Regions from separate parts of the Homo sapiens genome. Here region 1 is linked to region 2. Evidence: promoter capture Hi-C in 16 types of primary human blood cells and fetal thymus (Javierre and others, 2016). All regions are on one chromosome and are shown on one strand. The core of a region is centred on a gene start or on the middle of the fragment in contact, and the rest is flanking DNA. Distances in the headings are between cores, read along the strand shown. Region 1 overlaps RPRD2 (regulation of nuclear pre-mRNA domain containing 2). Region 2 holds the start of PSMD4 (proteasome 26S subunit ubiquitin receptor, non-ATPase 4).

Region 1 (4,218 bases), core at 1,553-4,052, 880 kb after region 2:
TGGCCGGGTGCGTTGGCTCACGCCTGTAATCCCAGTACTTAGGGAGGCCAAGGCGGGCAGATCACAAGGTCAAGAGATCGAGGCCATCCTGGCCACACATGGTGAAATCCCATCTCTACTAAAAATACAAAAATTTGCCAGGCGTAGTGGCTCACACCTGTAATCCCAGTGCTTAGGGAGGCCGAGGCGGGCAGATCACCTGAGGTTGGGAGTTCGAGACCAGCCTGACCAACATGGAGAAACCCCGTCTCTACTAAAAATACAAAATTAGCCGGGCATGGTGGCACATGCCTGTAATCCCAGCTACTCAGGAGGCTGAGGCAGGTGAATCGCTTGAACCTGGGAGGCGGAGGCTGCAGTGAGCCGAGATGGCGCCATTGCACTCTAGCCTAGGTAACAAAAGCAAAACTCGGTCTCAAAAAAAAATACGTAAATAAAAATAAAATAAACAGAAATTAAACCTAAGAATTTAAAAACATCCATTAACCCATTAAAAACAATAAATCCATTACAATCAATAAATTATTTCTTTTCTTTCTTTTTGTTTTTTTTTTGAGATGGAGTCTCGCTCTGTCGCCCAGGCTGGAGTGCAACGGCGTGATCTGGGCTCACTGCAACCTCCGCCTCCCAGGTTCAAGCAATTCTCCTGCCTCAGCCTCCTGAGTAGCTGGGATTACAGGCGCACGCCACCATGACGGTCTAATTTTTGTTTTTTTTTAGTAGACACAGGGTTTCGCCATGTTGGCCAGGCTGGTCTTGAACTCCTCACCTTGTGATCTGTCTGCTCGGGCCTCCCAAAGTACTGGGATTACAGGCATGAGCCAATTCAGCTGGGCCTTTTTTTTTTTTTTTTTTTTAATGAAGTCTCACTCTGTTGCCCAGGCTGATGTGCAGTGGCACCATCTCGGCTCACTGCAACTTCCACCTCCGGGTCCAAGGGATTATCCTGCCTCAGCCTCCCAAGTGGTTGGGATTACAGGCGCGCACCACCATGCCTGGCTAAGTTTTGTATTTTTAGTAAAGATGGGGTTTCTTCATTTTGGCCAGGCTGGTCTCGAACTCCTGACCTCATGTGATCCACCCGCCTTGGCCTCTCAAGTTGCTGGGATTACAGGCACTCAGTGAGCCACCCTGTCTAGCCAATAAATTATTTCTTAATTAAAAATAACTATATTTTGTAAAACAAAAATTTAGTGGGAGCAAATTGTTTTTCATTTTTGCAAATCTGTTTAATGGTCTGGCTTAAAAGGAGAGAAGTGTGTTCTTCTACTTGCTTCTATATGAGAATGGGCAGGTGCAAGGCTGTTTGGGAACTTTTATCCTGTATATACCACACTGTCCATGGAACACTATAAAATACCAATATACTCTGAAAGAAGCAGGAAGCCGTCTACCATAATGGTAAAGTGTAGGCCTTGGAGTCAAGACTGCTTAAGTTTGCAACCTGGCTCTATTGTTCATTAGTTGTGTACCTTGAACAAGTTATTTTAACCTCACTGAGCCCTCAAGTACTTAATTTATTGTCATTTATAGGGTTTATTATTTTACCTGTCACCAGTGTAATTTACATATACATCACTAATAGATTTACTCAGTAATAATACATTAACTAATGAATTGTTATATTAAATGAAATCACATAAGAACTCAGTAAATGTTATTTTCTTACTAAACTATTAGTGTTATGTTTGTAAAATTAACTACATTAATGACTGGAAATATAAGATTATTAAGTAATAACAACATACTTGTAAGCAACTTGGGCTTTGAATCCACCGTATTTCTTTTCTTTCTCCCACTTACCTTCACGTGACTTCTGCTTATATAAAACAAAATTAAGCTTATGCTTAGCCACTCTGAAACCAGGCACGTTTCCTTTTCCTACACTATAAATGTTCTGACAATTTCCCCAAAATAATCAATTTACTTCTCTGAGACTCAATTTATAAATTTTTAATAAATTTATAAATTCAACTGTTACACATCTATATTTTATAAATTCATATTTTTTATAAATTTACAAATTCATATTTTGCAGAGCTGACATCAAGATTATAGGTAATACATGTATGATAGCTAGTAAGGATCCTCAGTAAACAATAAGGATCCAGCAATCCAACCAAAGTGATACCTATTCTAAACTGTTAGAGCATATAAAACTCATATTATTATACTTCCCAGAACCAGTTATATGTGTTCAATTCCTATCTTACTTACTAAATGTTTTTTTTTTTTTTTTGAGACGCAGTCTTGCTCTGTCGCCCAGGCTAGAGTGCAGTGGTACGATCTCGGCTCACTGCCAGCTCTGTCTCCCAGGTTCACACCATCCTCCTGCCTCAGCCTCCCGAGTAGCTGGGACTACAGGCGCCCGCCACCACGCCTGGCTAATTTTTTGTATTTTTAGTAGAGACGGGGTTTCACCGTCAGCCAGGATGGTCTCAATCTCCTGACCTCGTGATCCGCCCGCCTCGGCCTCCCAAAGTACTGGGATTACAGGCGTGAGCCACCGCGCCCGGCCCATTTACTAAATGTTAAGTTCCTTATAATTCCATCTCTTTCAGCACCCAATACAGGGGTTTACATAGAGGAAGTACTCAATATTTCCTTTCTTTTTTTCTTTTTTTTTCTGGAGATAGTCTCGCTCTGTCACCAGGCTGGAGTGTAGTGGCGTAATCTCAGCTCACTGCAACTGCTGCCTCCTGGGTTCAAGCAATTCTCCTGCCTCAGCCTCCCGAGTAGCTGAGACTACAGGCACATGCCACCACGCTCAGCTAATTTTTGTATTTTTAGTAGAGACAAGGTTTCACCATGTTGGCCAGGCTGGTCTCAAACTCCTGACCTCAGGTGATCTCCCCACCTTGGCCTCCCAAAGTGCTGGGATTACAGGCGTGAGCCACAGCGCCCGGCCAGCACTCAGTATTTCTAAGTTCATTTTCTCATTCTGTATCTTTAGGCATAACATATTATAAGAGAATTTTAATCTTTCAAGTAATACTGCCTCCTAGACACAAAGATCATCATTTTAAAAGACTGTATCGGCCGGGCGCGGTGGCTCACGCCTGTAATCCCAGCACTTTGGGAGGCCAAGGCGGGCGGATCACGAGGTCAGGAGATCGAGACCATCCTGGCTAACACGGTGAAACCCCTTCTCTACTAAAAATACAAAAAATCAGCCGGGCGTGGTGGCGGGCGCCTGTAGTCCCAGCTACTCAGGAGGCTGAGGCGAGAGAATGGCGTGAACCCGGGAGGCGGAGCTTGCAGTGAGCCGAGATGGCGCCACTGCACTCCAGCCTGGGCAACAAACAGAGCAAGATTCCGTCTCAAAAAAAAAAAAAGACTGTATCATGCTACACTCTAAAACTATGATGACAGTAAAGGAACACAAAAACAGCTCAGGATCCATTCTAGGTTTTTTAAAACAAAAAATGTTAAGTTATAATCCCAAACATTAAAAGATCCTTTTTTCCTTTCACAGTGCAACTTTTACTAAAGGGTAATAAAGAATCACTCTCTCTCTCTGCTAATGGATTCCAGAGAACTAGAAAGTGCAAGTAAGTGAAATTAATTATAAGAGAAAGAAGTGAAGAAAGAGAGATGAGGGAGAGATCAAGGCCTCAATCAAACACTAGTAAAATTTAAACCCAGCAAACCAAACATTTTCATTTCCTTCATCAAAGAGCCTCTATTTCAATATTTCTCTAAAAACAAGAGAATAAGAATGAAGCATTTTTAAAAACTATCTTTATCTTAGCCAGAAAAGCTTTAATATTTCAAAGCACAGATGGAATTGTTGCCTTTTCTCAAAAGGAATAACTAGGTTCTACTACTTTCTCCCTAAGATGTACATTCCTCCAGTGTTCTATAATTAATATCTGTGGGGGCAGTGGAATTTGAAATCACTACGAAACACAACTACTTTTTGTTTCCTTGACAAATAGATGAGAAAGTCAGTCAAGCTGGTTTGTAAATTGTTCTGTTCTTGGGTAATTTTTATTAGGGTCTCTGAGTTCCTTCAACAAATTAAACCTCATGTATCCTTAATTCTCAATTGAAATTTTAAAACAACTGACCAAAATCTCCCCTTTTGACTTTTAAAAGTACTGCTGTAAAACAATAAACACCTGGAAAAAGTGGGAGGAAAAAAGAGAACATAACTGACAAAAGCCTAGGAGGAAGAAAGAATTTTGATGCAACTATTATTTATTAGTTTAAGAAAGG
Region 2 (4,573 bases), core at 470-2,969:
GAGAAAAAAAAAAAAAAAAGTGGGCAAAGGACATGAACAGACATCAGACACTTTATTTTTATTTATTTATTTATTTATTTATTTATTTTATTATTATTTTTTTTTTTTTGAGAGGGAGTCTCACTCTGTCGCCCAGGCTAGAGTGCAGTGGCGCCATCTCGGCTCACTGCAACCTCCACCTCCGGGGTTCAAACGATTCTCCCACCTCAGCCTCTGGAGTAGCTGGGACTACAGGCGTCCACCACCACGCCTGGCTAATTTTTGTATTTTTAGTAGAGATGGGGTTTCACCATGTTGGCCAGGCTGGTCAGTAACTCCTGACCTCAGGTGATACACCCACTTCAGCCTTCCAAAGTGCTGGGATTACAGGCCTGAGCCACGCCCCAGCCAGACACTTTTCAAAAGACGATATACATACAGCCAACAAGCCTATTAAAAAAACCTCAATATCACTGATCATTAGAGAAATGCAAATAAATCAAAACCACAACGAGATACCACCTAACACCAGTCAGAATGGCTATTACTAAAAACTAAAAAAATAACAGATGCTGGCAAGGTTGCGAGAAAAGAGAACACTGTTCTATCGTTGGTGCAAGTGTAAATTAGTTCAATCACTGGGAATCACTTGAACCAGGGAGGCGGAGGCTGCAGTGAGCCAGACTGGGCCACTGCACTCCAGTCCGGGAGACAGAGCGAGACCGTCTCAAAAAAAAATTATTCATCGTTTATCTGAAACTCAAATTTCACTGGGCATCCTGTATGTTATCTGGCAATGCTATGCTCCCCCGAGAAAATAAAAAGAAGAAATCTCATAGGTGCCTGTTTCACCCAATCGGTGATTTGTGTTCGTCAACTATTCTGTATTACATTCAGTGATTACACTTAGAAGGAACTCTTGAAACCCTGCAAAAATTTATGTCCTCCTCTTCTAATGTGACTCGTAATAGGTACTCAGCCCAAGCCTGAAACTGACAAAGAGAGCTACCTCACCGGATAAAGCCTTTGTGTCAGACAGCCGTGGGTTTAAATCTTGACTCCACCACTTAACTAGCTGTATGATTTTGGACAAATCACTTAAAATCGCTGAGACTCGGTATCCTGAACCGTAAAATGGAGAGATAATTTACCTTAAGGTGTGGTTGTGAGGTATAAGTGAGATAAACAAAATGACTGATACATAAAAAGCAATCTGTAAATGGTACCTTTGAAGATGATACAGGGAAAGGTAATGAAGTTAGAGACGAGGGAATGGGGAGAGGAAGGGATTAATAATCTATTTTCCTAATAGACGTTATTTTGCAAAGAAAGGAGGGCAGAAAACTATTACGATGAGTCCGAAAAGCAGAACTGTAGCTAAAGACAGACCCGGGCTGCTCTAGAGAAGACGGCGCTAGAACAGAGAAAGGAAGCAGGAATGACCAGTCAATGACCGTCCCCCTGGGGGTAACAGTGGTAACCCGGGACTATCCGCCACTCCAGGGCCCCGGGATGACTCAGGGAGTCCAGCGGGCTCCTTACCTCCGGGGCCAGGGCCGCCTCTCGCCCATGAGCCCCTGGCCCCCACCCCAGGCCCTCCCTGCCTTGGCGCTACACGCGCCCGGAACCCAGCTCTGCCCCTCCTGCCCCGAAGTAGCTCCTCACCACACCATAGTGCTTTCCAACACCATCTTGCCACCTTCCTCCCTCCCGACCGGGTCTCCGGGACGGCCTAACAACAACTCCTCCAATTGGCCCGTCGCTCTTCACCAATCACAGACCTCGGCTTGGCCAGCTGCTTCCGCCTCCGTCCCCCACGTTGCGTTCTGGGAGTTGTAGGTGCCGCCAAACAAATTTGTAGGCGTCTTGAGGGTAGTTGAAGGGAATCGCGGTAACACAAAAAACAGGATCTAGCCTCCACTTTCCCTGCCATTGCAGTTCTCAGTTGGGGTTTCCCGCTGGCCGGATCTCAGGGGAGCTATGGAGGAACCTTTGAAAGTGCTGTGTCGATTCCGGCTTCGGCATTTTAAAAAAGTGTCGGGATCGGCCGAGCGCGGTGGCTCACGCCTGTTAGCCCAGCACTTTGGGAGGCCAAGGCGGGCGGATCACGAGGTCAGGAGTTCGAGACCAGCCTGGCCAGCATGGTGAAACCCTGTCTCTACTAAAAATACAAAAAATTAGCCGGGCATGGTGGCGCACGCCTGTAATCCCCGCTACTCGGGAGGCTGAGGCAGGAGAATTACTTGAACCCGGGAGGCAGAGATTGCAGTGAGCCGAGATCGCGCCACTGCACTCCAGCCTGGGGGACAGAGTGAGACTCCGTCTCAAAAAAAGAAAAAAAAAAGTGTCGGGATCGCTAATGACTTTCTACAGCCCTCAGTTCCCTGTAGAATTTTAATTCAACAAGCCCTTATACCCTTCAATTGAATTTATTTGTATATTTATCTCCTCCCTCGTTTAACTAAGGGTGGGCAACGTGCCTTTTTTTTTTTTTTTTTTTTTTTTTTTTTTTTTTTTTTTGAGACGGAGGAGTCTCGCTCTTTCACCCAGGCTAGAGTGCAGTGGCTCGATCTCGGCTCACTGCAACCTCCACCTCCTGGGTTCCAGGGATTCTCCTGCCTCAGCCTCCCAGGTAGCTGGGACTACAGGGGCATTCCACCATGCCCGGCTAATTTTGTATTTTTAGTAGAGACGAGGTTTCACCATGTTGGCCAGGCTGGTCTCGATTTCCTGACCTCAGATGATCCACCCACCTCAGCTTCCCAAAGTGCTGGGATTACAGGCGTGAGCCACCACACCTGGCCGGCAACGTGTCTTAATCTTTACAATTCCCTAAGCCCAGTACAGAGCCCGGAAAAGATTTGACAACTCAATTATATTAACTAATCTGCCAAAGAACAAACCACTAAACCGTTTTGGTTAATCAAAAATTACATTCAAGGCCTGATGCAATGGCTTAGGTTTTATAATCCCAGCGTTTTGGGAGGCCCAGGCAGGAGGATCAACTCAGGCTAGGAGTCTGAGACCAGCCTGGACAACACAGCCAGACTCCGTCTCTACAAAGTTTTATTGTTTGAGACAGGGTGTCGCTCTGTTGCCCAGATTGGAGTGCAGTGGCCTGATCTCGGCTCACTGCAATCTCCACCTCCCGGGTTCAAGCCATCCTCCTGCCTCAGCCTCCTGAGTAGCTGGGGCTATAGGTGCATGCCACCAAGCCCAGCTAATTTGTTTTTAATTTTTTGATGTGGGAGGATGGCTTGAGCGCATGAGTTCGAGACCAGCGTAGGCAACATAGCCAGACCCCATCTCTGAAAAAAAAAAAGTCTCAAAGTGTTGGGATTACAGGCGTGAGCCATCACATCAGCTGGATATTTGATATTAAGCAATTTTTTTAGGCATGATAATAGTGTTAAAGTTATCACCCTTATAAAAGTAGGCTTTATTAAGGGTTATATGTTGTATTCATAGATAAAAAAAGTATATGAAGTTTGGGATTTAACTTAATCCTCTGGAAGAAACAAATAGTTTTGTTTTTTGAGACAGGGTCTCAAAGTAAAACAAAAGAGACAAGGTCTCACTGGGCTGGAGTGCAGCAGTGGTGCAATCATACATAGCTCACTGCAACCTCTAACTCCTGGCCTCCCATCTCAGCCTCCGAAAACTGGGATTACAGGCTTGAGCCACTGCACCCGGCCACGCTGGTCTTATTTATGTTGATAATTATTGAGGCTGGGTTATGTGTACATAGTGGTTCACCATACTACTCTACTTTTGGTTTGGAAATTCCCATAATGAAAAAAAGAAGGCCAGCTGGGCACGGTGGCTCACGCCTGTAATCCCAGCACTGAGAGGCCGAGGTGGGCAGATCACTTGAGGTTGGGAGTCCGAGACCAGCCTGGATACCCCCGTCGCTACAAAAAAATACAAAAATTAGCTGATTGTGATGGTGCCAGCCTGTAGTCCCAGCTACTTGAGAGACTGAGGTAGGAAAGTCGCCTGAGCCCAGAAAGTCAAGGCTAGAGTGAGCTGAGATTGCTCTGGGTAACAGAGCAAGACTAAAAAAGAAAACCAAGGCTGGGAAATCTCAGCACTTTGGGAGGCCGAGGCGGACGGATCATAAGTTCAGGAGATCGAGAACATCTTGGCCAACATGGTGAAATCCCATCCTACTAAAGATACAAAAATTAGCCGGGCATTGTGGTGGGTGCCTATAGTCCCAGCTACTCTGGAGGCTGAGGCAGGAGAATCACTTGAATCCGGGAGGAAAAGGTTGCAGTGAGCCGAGATCGTGCTATTGTACTCCAACCTGCGCGACAAGAGTGAAACTCCGTCTCAAAAAAAGAAAAACAAAACTAATAAAGAATGAGACTTCATCTCTGAATACATCTCAGAATAGCTGAGATTGACATGCTTAAGGGTAAAATATCAGACCAGATGACGATTTCCAACTTTATTATCCTATGATTTTAATTTCTCTTTTAGTTAGAAGTTTTACACTAATAGACCCTACTTGTATCTGAATATAAATTAGAGCATATAGCTAGAGAATAAGCACTAGTCGCTGCTCACCGCTAGAGGGACCCTCTGATCATAA

The links. Contacts are between HindIII fragments. The CHiCAGO score rates a contact against its expected background, and 5 or more counts as called.
Region 1: a fragment that was not itself captured here is called in contact with the fragment with the promoter of PSMD4 in region 2 in 1 of 17 cell types (monocytes); the score reaches 5.2 in monocytes.

Annotation. Positions count from the first base shown.
Region 1 is chr1:150,375,619-150,379,836 of GRCh38, reverse strand. The region is part of intron 1 of RPRD2 (regulation of nuclear pre-mRNA domain containing 2); the gene reads right to left. Among named protein-coding and RNA genes, the nearest start is that of RPRD2, 14 kb to the right of the region's middle. The HindIII fragment of the contact is 1,920 bases long and covers 1,843-3,762 here.
Region 2 is chr1:151,251,880-151,256,452 of GRCh38, reverse strand. PSMD4 (proteasome 26S subunit ubiquitin receptor, non-ATPase 4) reads right to left here and starts at 1,719. Exons shown (of 10, transcript NM_002810.4): 1 at 1,645-1,719. The coding sequence starts at 1,670. RefSeq lists a silencer at 1,458-1,597 and an enhancer at 1,638-1,827. The HindIII fragment of the contact is 14,627 bases long and covers 1-4,573 here.